Linked DNA regions of Homo sapiens: all the other regions are linked to region 1. The links are contacts of gene promoters, found by promoter capture Hi-C in blood cells and fetal thymus (Javierre and others, 2016). All regions are on one chromosome and are shown on one strand. The core of a region is centred on a gene start or on the middle of the fragment in contact, and the rest is flanking DNA. Distances in the headings are between cores, read along the strand shown.

Region 1 (2,742 bases), core at 176-2,675:
TCTAGGATGGTTATCTACCTATTAAAAAATTTTAAAGGGTCGTCAAGGAAGGTTTCGTAAATCTGTGTCAGCTTCCTTTACCAGCAAGTCTTTGAGTCAACTCTAAGGACTCAAGTGTACTCCTGAACATAAAAAATATATAAAGAATTAACTAAATAATTAAAACATGGTATTTTTCCTTCCGAAAACATGCTGAGAAATTCTGAATAACACTGGAATAATCAAAGAATTATTGCTGCCTACTGCTAAAAAAGTCTGTTTTTAAAAGTTACTAGTAATTTAAAGCTGAACTAATCAAAATATGTGTAGGCAGTGTTCAGGCTGGCAAGGGGGGGGTGGGGTGGAGCACTCATTTCACAACCTTGAACCTCAAGAAATAAAATTCAAAAATGCAAAAAGTTAAAAATGCCAGATACCACCATATAATCGCAATGACATCTTTTTATCTATTTCCACACTTAACCTTTAAACATTACTGCCCTTTGAGTAATTACCAATTGATGGGTTTAATATGCAAACACCTCTGAGCTACTTTAAAACAAACATGACTAACCCAGAAATAAACGTATCCAGGAAAGGAGAAAAACCTGTTAAAACACGGTTTCTCAGGTCTCACATCCAATGTGTGACATACATACGGTTCTGCACCGAAAGGCAGCAACCTGCGAGGGTCAGAGGCGCCGAAGACCCGAGGCCCTGCAGCTTGGGCGGCTGCTCATCCCTGAGACTGTGCAGGGCGGTGGCCCAGCCGGGGTGGGGCTGAGCGCTGCAACTGGGGCGGGCCCAGCTACAGGGCGGGAAGCCCGAGGCTCACCTCCACTTCCCTTTCCCAACGCACAGAGCCCAGGTCCGCGACCACTCAACAGCCCCCTCAAGACAAAGAGAGATTTTTTTTTCTGTCCCGGTCCGCTCAAAGTTTATCGGTCTTTCCCGGCGGTCGGGGCCGCCGGGCTTTGTAGTTCGCCAGTCCGAGCTACCCCACCAAGACCGCGAGCCCGAGGAGTCGCTGAACTACAATTCCCATGATGCACCGCGAGCCTGGCGCTCCCGCGCCCCTCCCCGTCCCCGCACGGGAGCCAGCGCCCGAGGAACCCCGCAGCCCACTGCCCTGGCGTCTCCGGCAGTGGGAGGCCGAGAGGGGCTGTTGGCTAGAGCCCTCCACCACCTGCTGTCTCGCCCTCGCCCCTTTCTCTCGGATTCATTACCCAGAAGGCGCAGGTCCGGGCACATTCAGCGATGCGGTCCAGATGGGGTGCGGGTGGGGCGCAGGCCGCCGCCGCCGCCGCCGCCGAGTCCGTTAGCTCGCGACGTGCGTGAAAAGGCGGCGGCGGCGTAGTGTTGCCATGGCAGCCGCGGCCGCGCGGTGGGCGCAGCGCGGGAGGGAGCGCGGGGGCTGTGAGTCCGCTCTGGGGCGGAGCTTGGGACTCCCGCCCAGGTTGCCGGGGGGAGGGAGGTGCAGCGGCGCGGGGTGGGAGAGCAGGGAGACAGTGACATTGAGGAGGACGTGTGGCCGACTGAGCTCTGGTCGTGCTTGATGAGCCTGCCTCCACTGCGTCCAGCCCCCGTGGCAGGGCACCTTCGTGCCTGCTGCTTTCGGAGGTGATGCCAGTGGCGTCGAAGGAGGGGGCACCCGGGGCGTCGCAGCGCCTTTCCCGCCGCCTGTCCAGGCGTCCGCCGCTGGGTCTGCCCCCAAGGGATGTGTGGATCCTACGCCACCTCTGTGTTTTTCTCCAGTCAAACCGAATTGAAGTCTTTCGCACCCCCTTTCTCCATTCTCTGGGGAGGGGGATAGAAGGGAATCCTTCGATAAGATGGAATGCATATGGCCTTTAGGATTATTCAGGAGGTTTTAGAATTTGCAAATGGCATTGCTTTCGACTGAATTTGGATTTATGCTGTTTCTTGGCAATCGTTTGTGGACTCTAGGATAAACAGGTTAAGAGCGTGGGCTTCTAAAACGAATTCTTAGTTCACGTCCTGCCCCTGTGCTTGGTAGCTGATGACCAGAGGCGCCTTTCTCACCTCTTAACGTTTTGATCTGCAAAAATGGAGATATCCATCTTGCAACTCTTGTAAGAAATACACGCATTAATACTGATGAAGCTCTATAAAACAAAGCTTAGCATTTAACAATAGCTATTAAATATTAATTATTTAATCAATAGTGATAAAAGTCAGAATAGTGGTTGGCTGTCGGGGAGGAGTTTGAGAGAATTTTTTGTAGTGATGAAAAAATTCTATAGCTAAGAGTTTCGGTTACAGAAGTATATGCACTTGTCAAAACTCTTGGAATGGGACATTTAAGATTTGTACATTTCACTGCATGTAAATTTACCTCAAAAGAGAACATAAAAATGTGTTGTTATTATTATTAGAGCTATAGACTCTAATGGAAACTACAGAGATATTCTAGGCCCAATCTCTAGATTTTATAGATGGGAAAACTGAGGCCCAGAAATTTAATAGAAAAAAAGAGGAAGGGGAGTGAATTCGTGACCTTGTCATTTTCTAGTAATGAATATCTCCTGAAAAATTATGGTTGAAAATAACAAAAATGGCTCCTGTAATCCAGCTGAGTCATCCTACCACAGAGATTTTCTTGAACTTGACTGAGTCCCTTATCCACCTTGTGGTGTTCCCCACGGCCAATGTCCTCTCAAGGATTGCACCGTCACTTCTGGCTCTCAGTTCTTGCTTTTCCTGAACACTTAGACCTCTCCACATATCACCTCTTACAACTCT
Region 2 (2,742 bases), core at 84-2,583, 250 kb after region 1:
AGTGTCCCTGAGGTTCCTGTGCTTGGCTCCCTCCTTTTTTCACATGTCTGGCATCTCTTGTGTATGCCTGAGAAGGATCCATGCTAAAATTGTAATGACATATATACCTAAATTAGCAGCATACAACTTCCAAAAACCGAGCCTATGCAAGAGCTATTAAAAAAAAAAGGATAATGAAGAGAACAGGATTTGAGTTGCTGCTTCTTGTGTTTCCCTTGGAGCCTTCCCAGGCAAATATGGATCAGAAAGCTTTTCTTGTCAATTCTAATTTGTGGTAGTCTAGAAACTTAACCCTTGCTACTTTGATCGCCTGATTTCATCTTTCAATGGAAAGGTAAAAATGATAAAATAAAACAATATTCTAGATACACTGTTCTCTGTAATTTGATGCAATTCAGTTTATATTCACTTGGCAAAAGTGAACAGTGCTGAATTTTAAGAACTAGTGTCTATATCTTACATCTCATTCTTAGCCAAAAGTGTGGAGTTTAAAACCATTTGCTCACCAAGACCTCAGCAGAAAATTTTTTAAAAAAATAACTGAAATGAAAACATAAGTCATGTAAAAAAAGATTTTTTTTTTAAGATGAAAAAATGTTCAACCTTGCTGGCTTTAGAGAAATAGGCATTAAAATGTCCGGGCTTTTAGCAATAATCCTAGTTGTTAGTGAAACACCAAGTCTGTCTCTAACAGCCATGGGCTATGAAACCTTCCTTTTTCCAAAAAGACATTCTGACAGATAGAATCAAGCCATTCAAGTGTCCCCCAGATACTGCAAATGTTGATCCTCAAAACCCCAGGAGCTTTCTTTCCTTATTCCCCTAGAGCAATAGTTTTCAAGTGTGATCCTGAACTTGTTAGAAATGCAAATTCTTGGGCCCCACCCCAGACCCACTGAATCAGAAACTCTGGGAGTAGGGCCGAGAAATGAGTTTTTCACAAGCCTCCAAGGGATTCTGATGCACGGTAAAATTTGAGGACCACCAATGCAGATGGATTATAATCTTCTTGAGGGCAAGGACCAAACTTGTTGAAGGTTAACCCTGGCTCGTGACTCACAGTAGGTGTTCAGAATGTGTTGAATGAATAAATGATCTGTACACTTTTCCAGAAAGCTCTGAATCTATAGTTACTTTTAATTTTTAAAAATATCTTTTGAGGACTTCTCTAGAAATAGGTGAGTCTGTTTCTTACATTGCCAAATGTACCTGGGGTGGGGGGTGCGGGTGGAGGAAAAATTGCCCCTGTTGAGAAGCACTGCCTTAGATCATTCCTTACCAAGGTACGTTAGGCACTGGCCTCACTCCAAGGCCAGTGCTTCCTGTGCTTCTAGAGTGGCTAGGGAAGCACACTATGGGACAACCTTTCCTCACCATTGACAATGGTCATTTACAAGACCATGGCTTATTTTACAGGGTGAACTCCCAATCCCGGTAAGATGGCCCGAGTTTCATTGCTGGTTTACTAGTTTTGCTTCCTTGGGCAGTGAATTTAAATAACCTGTCAAAAGAATGAAGTGATGGAAGCCAGACTCAAACCAACTGTGTACTCTGTCCACACCTCTTCAGCAATATGGCATATTGCAAAGTAGTGTTCAGAGATGTGCGTGTAGTAGGCTGCCTGCTCTAACACATGAGATTAAATTTAGATAGCCACATAGGGAAATCAGTTTTTAAGAAAGCGGATGGAATTCAGCTGCAAATAGATGGACACCTGGAATTCTGGGAAGTTCTAGCTGCTGCTGCTCAACTAAGGCATAACTGAACTCAAGATTTACAAAAATGTATTTCAGCCCAAGTCTCTCCATAACTACTAACAAGGGACTGAGGAGAAGAATTTATATTAAAAGGATAAAAATATCTACACTTGGAAACAGCAGATTGTGAAAGGGTATGTGACTGACAATTATTAAACAATTAAGAGTATGACTAAGATGAATATGCATTCATTCACCAAAATCTCATATTCCCAAAAAGCAGGAAAGGTAGTACAGTGAGATGGATGATGCCTTCACATGACTCAGATGTCACGTGTTTCTCACCATTGAGACCCCCAAGGCACCCCCTCCCAGCATTTACCAGAATGTGTGTGTAACTATTTACAGTGATTTGTGTAATTATTTGATTGTTTCTCTTGTATCCTGTAGCAATGAGGGTAGAGATTATATCCCACCTACCACTGCAGCTCCAGGATCCAGCTTCACAAACATTTGTTGAATGAATGAATAAGAAAAGAGGACACCCCCAAAGAGGCTGCAAGGGAAAAAGCTACAAAGACAGAAGCACCAGGAAAAAGTAGGGTCATGTAAGTCAAAGCAGGAAAAAAGTTCCATGGTGGGGTGGTCAGCAGTGTCTAATGCCACGAAGGCACAAAGTAGGATAAAGGTTAAAAATCAGCCTTTGGTTTTGGCAAATATGAAGCTTATCGGTAGCCTTAGCGAGAACAATTCCATCAGGGAGCAGAAGCTAACTGCAGTGGGTTGAGTCATCAAGCAGGCATAAGGAAGTAGGGATACCCCATTATAAGCTACTCTTTCAAGAAGCTCAAATCTGAAGGTTAGGAGAATTAGGTCAGTAGCTAGAAGGAAATGTGGAGTCGAGGGGCTGTTTTTCCTCCCAAGGAGTATAAAGGTGTAACGTTGCATGAAACCACTTCAGACAAAGGCCGATATCAATAGAGAAGTTAAAACGCACGCCTCAAGATTTGGGAAGGCTTGGGGTTGGGCTTAAAGAGGTAGGAGC
Region 3 (2,742 bases), core at 101-2,600, 220 kb after region 1:
GATGGGTTGATGGGTGCAGCAAACCACCATAGCACATGTATACCTATTAATAAAACCTGCACGTTCTGCACATGTATCCCAGAGCTTAAAGTATATTAAAAAAAAAAAAAAAAAAAAGAAAAAAAAGAAGAACTGCCTGAGACTGGGTGGAAAGAGGTTTAATCGACTCACAGTTGAGCACGGCTAGGAAGACTTCAGGAAACTTACAATCGTGGTGGACGGTGAAGGGGAAGCAAGGCACCTTCTTTACAAGGCGGCAGGAGAGGGAATGAATGCAGGAGGAACTACCAAACACTTATAAAACCACCATCAGGTGCCTGTAATCCCAGCTACTTGGGAGGCTGAGGCAGGAGAATCATTTGAACCCAGGAGGCAGAGGTTGCAGTGAACCAAGATCGTGCCATTGCACTCCAGCCTGGGTGACAAGAGCAAGACTCTGTCTCAAAAATAAAATAAAATAAATAATAATAATAATAATAATAATAATTTGGTGAAATTCTTCAACAGACTTGGCTAACTGAAACTGGTATATGAAGTTACCAATATTTATGTCTGTAACCATCTGCAGTTTATACACTTGAAAAGATATATAAAGATTTGGTCACATTGTATTTCACCACAGGCCCCTCCTAAGATTTATTTCTTAATTGGAACCTTGCCTGTGGTTATATATGCGTTGTTTTTTTATCACATAGTAGATATCCAACAAATAAGTATTAAACAAACAAATACATTCTTATTTGTAGGCCAGACAGAACAAATCGGCATAGTAAAATGGTTACAAATATGGCTTTGAAGTCTAACAGGATTGAGTTTAAATCCGAACTCTGCTAACTATTAAAATAATAGAAGTTTCTTAATCTCTCTAAGCTCAGACTCCATGTATAAAATGGCAAAAATAAGAATAGAAACCTCAGAGAGTAGGTGGAAGAACTGGATGATCATTGAAAGCATCTGATCATTTAAAGATAAATGATCATTCAGCACAGTGCTTTGACATTGTATGTTCCTGATAAATGACAGGTGTAATTTTGTTGTCATCACCATTGTTGTTATTTAGAAATGGCCTTTAGGGATGCACAAAATATTGCAGCAAAATGTCTCAGTATTCTTGTTCTTTGGCGTACTCCCAACCCCCACTGGTTTTTGTGACATCAGATGTGAACCACAGCAAAGGAAGAGATGAAAGAATAAAGTATCTCTCAAGACAGACTCAAAGATCCTTGACAGTAGGGCTCTGTCCTATGACTCTTTAGCCCAGTTGTTTTGCACATGGAGGTACTCACTAAATGTTTTTGATAACAAGAATATTGAGGTTCTTAATTATGTAAAAAAATTCAACATACTTAAAAGCTACTAAATGGCAAACTAATAACTTTTTGCAAAAGGAAACTAATACTTTGTTGAAAATTCTTATAAAACAAGTTGTATTTCATAAGATTGCACAGAAACAAAATATTAAACTCCATTATTAACATAAAAAAAAAAACCATCAGGTCTCACGGGAACTCACTCGCTACCATAAGAACAGCATGGGGAAATGGCCCCTGTGATTCAATTACCTCCATCTGGTCTCTCCCTTGACAGGTGGGGATTACAATTCAAGATGAGATTGTGGGGGGACACAAAGCCTAACCATATAATGGGGGTTTCGTCATGTTGCCCAGGCTGGTCTGGAGCTTCTGAGCTCAAGCGATCTGTCCGCTTTGGCCTCCCAAAGTGTTGGGATTATAGGCATGAGCCACTGTGCTCAGCCTGGCAATTTTTTTTAAAATTGGAAGGCAATATGCAACATTAAATAACCCACATCTAACAACTTTTATTTCTTTTTTTTGAGACAGGGTCTTGCTCTGATGCCCAGGCTGGAAGGCAGTAGCATGATATTGGCTCAATGCAACCACCACCTTCCAGGTTCAAGTGATTCTCACGCCTCAGTCTCCTGAGTAGCTGGGATTACAGGCATGCACCACCATGTCTGGCTCATTTTTCTATTTTTAGTAGAGATGGGGTTTCACCATGTTGGCCAGGCTGGTCTCAAACTCCTGACCTCAAGTGATGCGCCTGCCTCGGCCTCCCAAAGTGCTGGGTTTATAGGCGCAAGCCACTACGCCTGGCCCAAACACATATTATATACCACAGACTTGTGAATTATTCATTATTTCTCTAACTCTATGAGATTGTATTTTTTATTCCCATTTTGCAGATGATAAATGAAGGCTGAGAGACATTAAGACAGAGAACAGTGAGACTGGTTCTGCCTGCATATCATTTCACCTCTGAGTCTGAGATTCTTCATCCAGAGAGATCTGCAACCTCACCAGATAACCTAAAAAAAATTAAAATCAAATTGCTATAATCACAGTGCCTGCCTCATAGGGCTATTGGGACATGACGTCTACGAGGAACCTGACAGTGCTTGGCACACAGCAAGACCTTGATATGGGGAGACAGCAAGCCTGCCACCACGAGCCCTAGCTCCACCATCACTAAATGACTTGTCCCAAGACAACCAGAAAGGGGCCTCTGCCCTCTGTCGCCAAAGCTCCTCTCCATACCACAGAGCCTTCCTGTGAGAGAGTCTGTGTGTCTTTATTTCTCTTGCTGTTATCCACAAGTGTTCTAATGATTTAGCAGCACTTGGCACTGTTTTGTCTCAGATCACAATCAGCCTGAGGTCCGTGCTCCATTAGGAATGTCTGCTCATTCCTAACCGCAGTGTTTTCCACACATCCTTCTGATGGC
Region 4 (2,742 bases), core at 161-2,660, 190 kb before region 1:
AGACAGAAACCACGGCTCCCCCTGGCGGACACCGGTTCCCCAGCGCTGGGCTTTCCCCTTCAGTAGTTTAGGGGTAGTTTTCAGCTAAAGAAAACAGTGGACGCATTTTCCCATCAGAGGGCTTGGTGGCAGGATTCCCACAGGCTTAAGGAATGAAAGAAAGGAGATGCGATAGAAAGGAAGAATGGTAAGTAAGGCCCGGAAAGTGCAGGCAGAGAATGTTATGCACCTGCATGTCGTGAACCCAATGGCAACGAAACACTTACTTGTCTGCGGGGCAAATATAGCCGCGTTGGCTCTTTCTCCTGGAACCACGGATACTTTGGCAAGGAATGAATGAGTTATAAATGCAACGTTTTCTTAAATATATTAAATACATAACACTGACCTTCACAAAGGCTTTTATCTGGAATAAGGAATGAATAAGTAGGGTAATGAATAAGAAAGTTAAATTAAAGCACCATAGAACACAGTTTGAGTAACTTTAAAAATTTTTATTTACTTAATTTAATGAAAACAAATGATAAGTAAAATGTCTTTATATGAACATCTGAAAAAGCTTATAACTCTAAATGGCAATCCTAATCCAGCTGCTATAGTCAGGCTGCTATAGCAAAATACCCTAGACTGGTAGCTTATAAACAATAGAAACTGATTTCTCACAGTTCTTGGGGCTGGGAAGTCCCAGATCAAGGTGCCAGCTGATTCAGTGTCTGGGGAAAGCCTGCTCTCCGGTTCATAGATGGTGCCTCCTAGCTGTGTCCTTACCTGGGAGAAGGAGGAAGAGCGTTCCCTGGGATCTCTTCTATAAGGGCACTAATCCCGTTCATCAGGGTGACCTAATCACTTCCCAAAGGCCCTGCCTGCTAATGCCATCACCTTGGGAGTTCAGTTTTAACGTGAATTTTGAGAGGACACAAACATTCAGACCTTAGCAGCAGCCTTTTGTTTTATTCCCCGAATACAATGTATAAATGTGGAAATGCCTGGGAATTTCAGCCATCTAAGTCAGGCAGTTAGCTTTGTGATATGGACTCCCTCTTGTAACTTACTCTGTGTGGACATCTGTTCTGTTGATTGTGTACAGAGTTGAATTTCACAGAGGCTGACGCAGCAGTGATCATTCAGACATTTCTGAATGGACGGCAAAAGAAGGAGGAGGAGGAGAAAGTAAATACCAATGACTTACTTTGCAAAGTAAATTGACAGATCCTTTGTAGACCAAATCAGCAAGGTTGGGTTGTGTCCCTCTGGGCCTGGGTTTCCCACCTCTTGTAAAACCGGGAGAGGCAGAGAAGCTAAGACAGATGGTGGGTCTCCTGGGAGGCTCAGGGCCGAGCCGGCCTCAGAGGAAGTCTCTTCATCAGCACTCGGCAGCAGCAGCGTGGAGACTGTCCTCCACCCTTCCTGAAGCCACCAGCTTGGATGGCCCAGGCTTTCTTCCCATCACTCAGTTGTCAGAGCAACAGCTTCTGGAGGGAGCCAGCCCACGGCCCTGCCATTATGCTTCCCAGTGGCAGCTGGGGGATAGGGGGCAGTTAGGAGGAACAGAAACAGGTTGACATGGATCCAGGGAGCAGAGATGGCTCACAAGTGCAGATAGGGAGTGATCTTAAATCTACAAAATATGGATGAGAGACAGCATAGGCAACACTTTAGGCTTTGTGTTAAGCCTTTTAATTCAAGTCATCAAGTGTTTACAAGTGCTTTCTAATTAGAGACGACATGGAATAATTTGAAGACAAAGAATTACGTAAAGAAGATAGTTTGCTACCCATATGTTGGTGAAAGAATAACTTTTCTGATCTAATTGGGCCAAACCAAACTAAACACCTAACACCAAAGACAGCAAGCAGTATTTGCATTATTATTTAGCAAATATTAAAGAGCTCTTGTGGCCAAACATTCTTAGTGGAAGGGGTAAAAGTCCTAGCGTCTTTGTTTATATAAAGACATATGGAAGGATATTTTATAGTAGTGGTTCTCAAAGTGTGGTTCTCAGACCAACAGCAGCAGCAGCACCTGGGGACTTAGGAATACAAATTCTCAGGTTTTGCCCCAGAACTACTGAATCTGAAACTCTGAAGATGGGGCCTGGCACCCGTGTTTTAGCAAACCCTCAGGTGATTCCAATGCACTCTGAAGTTTGAGAACCACGACGCTAATCTTATCTTCGCTGCGGTGTCAGATTTAACTAGGTTTAAAAGAGTCAGAGTAGATCTAAAAGAATGAATTTAAAATAGGGCTTGGAATATAAGAAATAAAGCTTGAAAAAATACAAAATCGTAACTCCCAACTTCTATCCAGTGCAAGACGCCCTGCATAAATCAGCAATGGAGACTATGAAAAGAGTCAGATAGGACAAAAGGGGAAGGGACTAGGTTCAATGGAACCCAGAGAGAGGCTTCCGGTGATGTGCCACAGGGTTCTGCACTGTCAGGCCCACTAAACATCTCCATGATCACTGATAAGACTAAACAAATACTCACCAAATTTTAAAACTATGAATTTAATTAAGTTGACAGCAATCCCACCTGTTTGATAGGTCTGAGAAAATGTATTAGTCCATTTTCACACTGCTATAAAGAATACCTGAGACTGGGTAATTTGTAAACAGAAGAGGTTTAATTGACACACGGTTCTACAAGGCTGGAGAGGCCTCAGGAAACTTACAATCATGGTGGAAGGTGAAGGGGAAGCAGGGCACTTCTTACATGGTGGCAGGCGAGAGAGATAGCACAC
Region 5 (2,742 bases), core at 81-2,580, 180 kb after region 1:
ATTAACTCCTCCTTTCCCTCACTCCCCGCAACCAGCAAACCCTCCAGTCCTAGGGATCCTACCTCTTTAATGTGTGTCTCTGATCCCTGTCACTTCCCTTCATTTCCGAGGCCACCTTCTCCTGCTCACTCTACTCCAACCCTGGGCCTTAGTGTTAGGAAACTCCGAGTGACGTTTCTAAGGTAAATTATGACATTATGATCGTGATGTTCCTCTGCTTAAATAATTCCTGCATGACTCCCTGTTGCCCACAAGAGAACGTGCAAATTTCTTTTTTTTTTTTTTTGAGTCAGGGTCTCCCTTTGTCACCAGGCTGGAGTGCAGTGACATCATCTGGGCTCACTGCAGCCTCTGCCTCCTGGACTCAAGCGATCCTCCCTCCTCAGCCTCCTGAGTAGTTGGGGCCACAGACACGCACCACCACACCCAACTAATTTTTAAATTTTTTGTAGAGATGGTGTCTCACCATGTTGCCCAGGCTGGTCTCAAACTCTTGGGCTGAAGCAATCCTCCTGCCTCAGCCTCTCAAAGTGCTGGGATTATAGGTTTGAGCTACTGCACCCAGCCGAATGTTCAGCTCTTAGCAGAGCATCCTAGGCCACTCATGGTCAGGCCCTGCTTCTCTGTCCTGCCCATGCTGAAGCTCCCATCCTGAGCCACTGGGAGGTCCTGGGATGGTCATGCTCTCTCAGGCCTTGATGTCTTTCCAGCAGGATAACCTTACACCTGTCCAACTCATGCTTGTCTTTCAGCTCTGAGAAGCTGCCCCTGACCATCCCATTCAGAGCTTGGCTGTGGGGGAAGCAGTCCCTTGGTACCCCCCATCCCAGCCTGAGCTGCCCCTCCTTGGCAATGTCTCCAGGGCCAGGGTCTGTACTACCCAGGCGTCTGTGACCTTCACCTCTGTAAGCCCCTGCAGGGCAGGGTGTGCTTTCTTCCCCATTTTCCCCAGCATCTAACCTCCAGGAGCCACTCAATTCATAATTAAATGTCTAAAATGATAAAGTGGGGGAAAGTAATGAAGGAATAAGAGTCTATTACCAGCTTTGCTACCAACTACTCTATACCTGCTACTAAAACTGAGTGAAGCAGGATGCTATTTTGCCATTCCTGAAGTAGGATCTTCACCACGTTCCTCACCCTCCATCCCCCAACAACCGCTACTCTGTCTCAGGGACTGGGATGGGTATAAGAGCTTATTACATTGTTTTGTTTTTTGTTTTCACCATTAAGAAAAAATGGGCCAGGCGCAGTGGTTCACGCCTGTAATCCCAGCACTTTGGGAGGCCAAGGCAGGAGGACTGCTTGAGCCCAGGAGTTCAAAACTAGCCTAGGAAACATTGTGAGACCCTGTCTCAAAAAAAGAAAGAGAGAAAGAGAGAGAGAGAAAAGAAGGAGGAGGAGTAGGAGGAAGAGGAAAGAGGAGAGGAGAGGAGAGGAGAGAAGAAGAGAAGGGAAGAAAAGAGAAGGGAAGAGAAGAGAAGAGAAGGGAAGATGACATGGAAGTGGAAATACACAGTGCAATCTTTTATTCTATAGATTACTCTTCTTCCAGGAGACAAAGAGCCAAGGGGATAAACAGCCAAAGGACCTCTCACAGCTGGGTAAATGTGCAAAAAATGGGAGATAAGTATTAATATAGCAAAGAGTGAAGCATTTCATGGAAAACATTTCTTTTTTTCTTTTTCTTTTTTTTTTTTTTTGAGACAGAGTCTCACTCTGTTGCCCAGGCTGGAGTGCCATAGTGCAATCTCGGCTTACTGCAATCCCCACCTCCCGGGTTCAAGTGGTTCTCCTGCCTCAGCCTCCCAAGTAGCTGGGACTACAGGTATGAGCCACCACGCCCAGTTAATTTTTGTATTTTTAGTAGAGAAGGGTTTCACCATGTTGGTCAGGCTGGTCTCAAACTCCTGACCTCAAGGAATCCACCCATATTGGCCTCCCAAAGTGCTGGGATTACAGGTGTGAACCACTGTGCCCAGCAGGAAAACATTTCAAATGTACTTTTAAGATGAGAGACCCTAACTCCCACTTATAACATAGGAAGGCAACTTGGGAGACACTGGGGGCAGCCCCCAAAGGGCACCAGCTCAGCATGCCGCAGCCATCACAAAGCCACCAAACTGTGTGGTGTCACCGGAAAACACGGAAAACACCAGTGTCCTGCCTTGAGTACCTATGACTTTTTTTAGAGCGAGGGTCTCTCTAGAGATGGGCAACAAAAATAATCAAGTGCATGCTGAGACTTATAAATAAAAGTAGATAAAGAGAAGAAAAGACAGCAGATCTGCAATCACTAACATCAAAGGAAAAGCGGGAGCATGAGGAAGATAAGTCATGAAAAGCACAGGTAGGGTGAACCTACAAGACTAGAAATAGTGGAATTCCTTAAAGTTTGACCAAAGTAACTTAGGGACGCTTATGGGGAAAATATTACAGTATCTTACAATAGTATTTTAAATACTCTTTGCTGTTCATTAGACTAGTAAGTAGTAGTTTAAGGAAGATTTATGGAATTTTAGAACACAGTTATAATCAAATCCAGCATCCCTATGTCTTAGATGAAAGAAATTGGATCTAGAGAAAGTCAGTGCCTTGCCCGGGGCCATACACCACCTTACAGCAGAGCTGAAGCTCGAACCCTTGATTTCTATTCATGCTTTTTCTATTAGATTATTTAATATGAAAACACTATGACTGATGATAGAGGCCCAAGATAGGGATGTTGGAGACAAGGCCAGA
Region 6 (2,742 bases), core at 172-2,671, 170 kb before region 1:
CAGGAGTTTGGGTATAGGAAAGAAATGAGTAAAATAGAAGGGGAGGAAAATCTCAGCTTTTTAAAACTGTGTTTTTAAATTTATTTTTAATCGACAAATATAAATTGTTTATATTTATCGTGTACAATGTAATGTTTTGAAATATGTGTACCTTGTGGACTGGCTAAATCGAGCTAATTATGCATTATCTCACACACCATTTTTGCAATGAGAAGACTTAAAATCTACTCTCCTAGCAACTTTTAAGGATATAATATCTTGTTATTAACTCTAGTTACCTCGTTGTACAATAGCTCTCTTGAACTCATTCTTCCTGCACAGCCAGCCCATTGTAAGCACCAAGCTGGCAGCCGGCTCCTTTGAGAGGGCTCCTGCTTGCCTTGTGTGACACTATCGGCTGCGGCCAGCAGGGGGCGGCTTCTCCTTGTTTGAGAGAGAGCCTCGCTTGGGCTGCTGTGTGCTGAGATGAAACGCGCCTGACCAGGGACCCGCCCCCAGAACTGGCAAGGAAGCTCCTCTCAGCCTTTGCCTCTGCAGAGAGGGCCAGGAAGGGCTGGTGGAGAAACGAACGCCTCGCACGTCCTCGGTGCACATGCGTTTATTCATTATTCAGTACTTGGGGGGGCACTCACTGAGGGTTGGACGTAGAGCCGGGGTGAGGACGGCAGAGAGGAGTGAGACCCGTCCCTGCTCTTAAGGGGCTCCATGTTGGGTGGGGGCAGAGGTCCAGGCCATAGCGACGGGGACCCGGAGGCAGGACCGAGAGCCCAGAGAGTTGGTGGCGCTGCCGTCCCTGCACTGGGTGGGCCGTGCTGGGAGAAGGTCCCGGGGATCACTCCTCCTAGGCCGCCGGGGCAGTCTCTCCAGCCACCCTCTTTCCCCAGAGCCAGCGGGCTGGGGTTCTTGGTTTAGACTCTCTTCTCTCCTGTCCTGGAGGACCAGCCATTTGACGCCCTTGTCCACTGGGAGGATGTTTTCCATGATTCCACTTCTTCCCTTCCTCGGCCACCTAAGGCAGGCCGGCTTATGCGTGACTGTCAACCGAGGCAGGCCACAGCGCTGTGGGCAGGCGGTTTTGCACGTATCCTTAGTGACCCTGAAGGCCCAGCCTCTGCTGGCTGCCTGAGCCGAGGGTTTTACTTCTTTTCATTTAATCACTTTATTGGTCCTTGCCGGGAGGGAGCCCATGGGTCCTGGTAAAAGTGCATCTCCCTGTGGTTCTGGGGCTGATCCTCCTTCTGGAGCAGAAGACAGAGCTCAGTGAGGACCGCCTGTGCTGCCTGCCTGGGACGCCCCAGCCGCAGGGCCGCGCAGGCGTGTTTCTTTGAGAGCCCTCCCCTGGAAGCTCCCTTTCACTCCACCCTGTTGATAAGGCCCAGGACAAAAAGCAAGCAACCGCTGGAAACACACCTGCTGGAAACACGCCTCCAGTGCCAGCCCAGGAGGTGGTGGCCCTGTCCTGACGCCCCGTCTAGCCACCGGGCCAGAGCTGGGAGCCCCATAGTGGAGTCTGTGTCCGGCAGGTGTCTCTGGACAGCTGAGGTTCTTGTAACCAAAGAGGTTCGTTTACCTCCTTAGATCACCCAGGGACAAGTGATGTGTTTTGTGGCCTCGGATCGTTCCGTGCTGTCTCTGGTGGGTTATTTATTCAATGTTCTAGGTTGACTTGTCTGCTTTTAAAAAAAATAAAACAAAATAAAAGGAAGAGTAGGAGAAAATAAGAAATTCCAGGGTTGTTATGAAGCCAGAAATCTAAAAATAACTTCGGTAAAGACTCAGTTGTGGCTTCTCTTTATTTTGAAAGAGCAACAGCTAATGACCAAAACAGGCTAGCTTTGTCCTGGCCGGTGACAGGCCACTGGACAGTGACTGCATTGTAACCAGGGACACACGGCCTCCCGACAGACAACACTCCTGCCAGATGGGGCAGCTCGTTCAGTGAGTGACTCCTTCCGTCAGCAGGGGCAAGGGGCAGGGGCCCTAGGTCCTGCCAGCTCTGTGGCTTCCAGGGTTCCTCTGGGGGCCTCAGCTTCATCCATGTGAGCAGAGACGAACAACAGGGGAAAGGTCACCCACAGAGGATTTAAAGCAGTGGCCATAAAGACATCCACTGATCTCCAGAAAGCCAGGCACTGCGCCCTCTGCCACCATCTTCAGATCTCATAATAGTGGAGAAATATTTTGTGGCCCTTCTGGCTACCATGCACTGTGCTAATGGCTTTGTTTTTATCACTTTATTGAATTGTCACAACTCTGTAAGACACCCCACTTTACAGCCAAGAAGACAGAGGCTCTAAGAGGTGAAGTAACTTTCGGAGCTTTGCAAAGCTAGCAAGTTGCAGAACCTGGCTCTAAACCCAGATTTAACTGTCATCCAAACCCCTGCTCTAGCCAAACCCCTGCCCTAGCCTTAACTGCTATGCTGTGCTGGTTTGGCTGTAAAACCATGATTCAGTGAAAACAAATATGAGCCTGACAGAGCAGAAAGAAAGTCCTAATGTGGAGGGTTACAAAGCCTTAGGGCAGCTCCTGAGAAAGACACAAAGCCATCTCTTATGAGCTTATTCAGTCCTCTGCAAAAAGAAAGGTCCTGGACAACGTGTTCCCTGCCAGCAACTCCACCCCCTAACAGATGTTTAATTGAACACCTACTATATGCCAGGAACAGCGGGGTATAAGACCAAGCCCTCACTCTAATGAATTTGAGCCCTAGGAGGAGAGAAGCAGCAAGTCAACTACACG
Region 7 (2,742 bases), core at 146-2,645, 150 kb before region 1:
GGCTGACAAGCTGATGCTGGCCTTTAGCAGGAAGCCTCCATGCTCTCAATATCAGCTTCTGCACAGGGCTATTTGAGAATTCACAGAATATTTTGGCTGACTTCCCTCTGAACAAGTGATCCACAAAACAAGGTGGAAGCCTCAATGCCTTTCCTGCCCAGCCTTGGAAGTCACATATCATCAGCTCTGCCACATCAGCTGGCCTCACAGACCAACCCTGATGCAGCGTGGGAAGAGACCATATGAGGTGCAAAAATCAAGGGTCATTGGGGGGTACCTTGGAGGTTGTCTATCACCTGAAATTTGATCTTGAAATGGGGACTTGCTGCACTCAGACCCTAACAACCACGTTGCATTTCTGCCTCCCTCTGCTCATCCGTAAAATGAAGCGCATTGCTGAGCACAGTTTTACTAGTTCATTCAAGCATCTGTTTCCCAAGTTAGTCTGCAAGCTGCTTAAAGATAAGGACTACAGCTTCTTTATATCTCTATCTGTATCCTCACAACATCATCTCTATCCTCTCAATGCCTTGGTGCATGCTCAACGGATGAATGGAAAGACTGGATGCTCTTCAGCAGGGACCTACAGTTTCTACTTCATCCCTGAGTTCTAATGAGCCAAAGCCCAGGCAGCTCCAGAAGCTCCAGTGTTTGACACGCAACCCCACACAGGCGGAGGTTCTAGAGCTGTATGGGTATGGATGCAGCTCCAGAAGTCTGCAGCCTTCCAGGAGGGGGGCGTGAAGACAGAACTGTACCTCCCAATCCCTCCTGACCTGACTCACATCAGCCACCAAGCTTGGGTGGACAAGGTATTCCTCGGTATTAGGTTTAATCCCAGACATTAAGATTTGGGGTGATTTTTCTTTTAGGCTTTTCTATGTATTTCAGATTTACCACAATGAATGTGTGTTTGTTTAGTGCAGAGAGAAAAATAAGGAAAAATAGAAACCTCAGTAAGCTGTTGTAATTTTTACACTGGCTTGCTCAAGCAGAGTTCCAGATCCGGCTCTTCTGTAGGATACATTCACTGAGGGGTCACCTCCCCTGGGTTTCCTCACTGTTTGTTCAGGAAGACAATGACTAATCTGTAAAATGGGAAAGTTAACCTTTACTTTCTTCTCATTTTACACAGAATTGTTTGCAATAATTAGTGAGACATTGATGGACAGATGGTTGAGATCTGGGGAGAAGACACTGGAAGGCCAGATGGCCAGTGACGAAGGAGGAGAGAATGGGATTGTTATCAGGATAACACTGACCACCCCTAAAATTGCACTGTGCCTCCACTGCCCGAATAATTACACCCATTCTCCTTAATGGATTCTGCCGGAGGGGACCTGCCTTTGAAGGCTCACATTTAATTGTTATTATCATTATTACTATAATTAGTATAATGTAATGGATTCTGGACTTCATGCATTGCCTCTATATAACAGCAAAGTTCCTAGCAGCCAGCTGGTGTAGAGGACAGAAATTCCACTTTTTCTTCAGAAGCCACTGAGAATGTAAAGACACCACTGAAATCCTCAGACTCACTAGGCCTGGCTTTAATAAGCATTTCCCCCTGTTTCTTTTTTTGCTCCCTCTACAGAAACAGCTTCTCAGTGAAAATTGTCATGACAACCTGGAGAGAGGAAACGTTCTACTGCAAGCCGAGCGTGGGGACCGAGGGTCGGCGTCACAGTGAGAGAGCCATGATGGAGGACGGGGTCACCCTGCTTGCCCAACGCGGGGAGCTCCGTCATACAGAACCCCAGTGAGTTCTGGAGGTCACGCTCTGTTTCATAAATGAAAAGCTGGGGCAGGGGCCTTGCCACACGGACACTCCTCGGGCCTCACAAGCTCCTGTGGGTGACCAGGCTGCTCCCCACCGCCGGCGTGGGCTGTTGCTACCCTGCACATCCCTCGGGTGGGCAGCGGTGCTTGAAACGCCAGCTCCCGCCCTTCCTGCCTAGTGGCTTGACGGCTTCATTGTGCTAACCACCCAGGCAAGCTTGCGTGACTAACGGAGGAGCGTCTCCCCTTAGATTCTTCCCGCCCGGAGCCGGGGACAGCAGGTTGTTTATCACGGAAGGGCTGGGAAGAGCTTTTCAGAAAGGCCTTGGGGACTCTCTGTGTGGCATGGAACAGAGAGTGCCTGCCCACCCCAGGCAGCCAGATGCAGCCCCTGCCTGCTTCCCCCTCCCTGGCTATGTGCGTTCCAGAAAACCACCTGACCTCCAGATTCTCTCTCGTCCAGTGGAGATTCTCCTGCCCGAAGGCAGGCGCTCTCCAAGGTCCCTCTCCCCAGAAGAGCCACGATCCCAGGAAGCCGGCTTGTGCAGAGGAAAGAACCGCACCTCGTTGTCAGAACAACCCCAGCTCTGCCACCTACACCTTGTGTGACCTTGGGCAAGTCAGAGAAACTTCTCAGATGCACAATCTCGTCACGCTCCTAGTTTCCAAGCCCACACACCTGAGGGTCAATGTCCCTTATTGCACCCCCACCCCATACCGACTCCATCAGCAAGTCCTGTTTGTTCTTGCCCCAAGTATCTCTCCTGTCTGCCCATTCCCTGCATCTCCCCCGTCACCACCCCGGGCCAGTCCCCGTTACCCGCACCTGGAGGTCTGCACCAGCCCCACCTGCACTCCGGCGTCCACTCTCGCCCCCATTGCTGTGATCTCCACACAACCACGAGCGGCCTTGAGAGCGCAGCGAGGCCGTGAGGCTGCGCAGAGCCCCTCAGTCAGCAGGAC

What was found. The method cuts DNA at HindIII sites, captures the fragments that hold promoters and counts their contacts. A CHiCAGO score of 5 or more calls a contact.
Region 2: a contact is called between a fragment that was not itself captured here and the fragment with the promoter of KATNAL1 in region 1, in 7 of 17 cell types (naive CD4 T cells, non-activated CD4 T cells, total CD4 T cells and 4 more). The highest score is 9.0, in naive CD4 T cells.
Region 3: a fragment that was not itself captured here is called in contact with the fragment with the promoter of KATNAL1 in region 1 in 3 of 17 cell types (naive CD4 T cells, naive B cells and non-activated CD4 T cells); the score reaches 6.8 in naive CD4 T cells.
Region 4: a fragment that was not itself captured here is called in contact with the fragment with the promoter of KATNAL1 in region 1 in 3 of 17 cell types (naive CD4 T cells, fetal thymus and naive CD8 T cells); the score reaches 7.5 in naive CD4 T cells.
Region 5: a contact is called between a fragment that was not itself captured here and the fragment with the promoter of KATNAL1 in region 1, in 1 of 17 cell types (naive B cells). The highest score is 5.4, in naive B cells.
Region 6: a fragment that was not itself captured here is called in contact with the fragment with the promoter of KATNAL1 in region 1 in 8 of 17 cell types (naive CD4 T cells, fetal thymus, total CD4 T cells and 5 more); the score reaches 9.6 in naive CD4 T cells.
Region 7: a fragment that was not itself captured here is called in contact with the fragment with the promoter of KATNAL1 in region 1 in 4 of 17 cell types (naive CD4 T cells, fetal thymus, naive CD8 T cells and 1 more); the score reaches 6.8 in naive CD4 T cells.

Annotation. Positions count from the first base shown.
Region 1 is chr13:30,306,126-30,308,867 of GRCh38, forward strand. KATNAL1 (katanin catalytic subunit A1 like 1) reads right to left here and starts at 1,426. Exons shown (of 11, transcript NM_032116.5): 1 at 1,206-1,426. RefSeq lists silencers at 1,061-1,170, 1,201-1,430. The HindIII fragment of the contact is 2,852 bases long and covers 1-2,116 here.
Region 2 is chr13:30,557,937-30,560,678 of GRCh38, forward strand. It overlaps a transcript of HMGB1 not described here. Among named protein-coding and RNA genes, the nearest start is that of USPL1, 59 kb to the right of the region's middle. The HindIII fragment of the contact is 2,172 bases long and covers 248-2,419 here.
Region 3 is chr13:30,524,241-30,526,982 of GRCh38, forward strand. It overlaps a transcript of HMGB1 not described here. Among named protein-coding and RNA genes, the nearest start is that of HMGB1, 60 kb to the left of the region's middle. The HindIII fragment of the contact is 4,367 bases long and covers 1-2,742 here.
Region 4 is chr13:30,115,154-30,117,895 of GRCh38, forward strand. No RefSeq gene overlaps it. Among named protein-coding and RNA genes, the nearest start is that of LINC00365, 7.6 kb to the left of the region's middle. The HindIII fragment of the contact is 1,707 bases long and covers 558-2,264 here.
Region 5 is chr13:30,483,347-30,486,088 of GRCh38, forward strand. It overlaps a transcript of HMGB1 not described here. Among named protein-coding and RNA genes, the nearest start is that of HMGB1, 19 kb to the left of the region's middle. The HindIII fragment of the contact is 4,231 bases long and covers 1-2,742 here.
Region 6 is chr13:30,132,320-30,135,061 of GRCh38, forward strand. No RefSeq gene overlaps it. Among named protein-coding and RNA genes, the nearest start is that of LINC00384, 19 kb to the right of the region's middle. The HindIII fragment of the contact is 7,366 bases long and covers 1-2,742 here.
Region 7 is chr13:30,152,082-30,154,823 of GRCh38, forward strand. LINC00384 (long intergenic non-protein coding RNA 384) reads right to left here and starts at 993. Exons shown (of 2, transcript NR_138041.1): 1 at 953-993; 2 at 1-68. It overlaps LINC00385 (long intergenic non-protein coding RNA 385), which reads left to right and starts at 1,681. Exons shown (of 2, transcript NR_187533.1): 1 at 1,681-2,742. RefSeq lists an enhancer at 1,178-2,377. The HindIII fragment of the contact is 1,198 bases long and covers 797-1,994 here.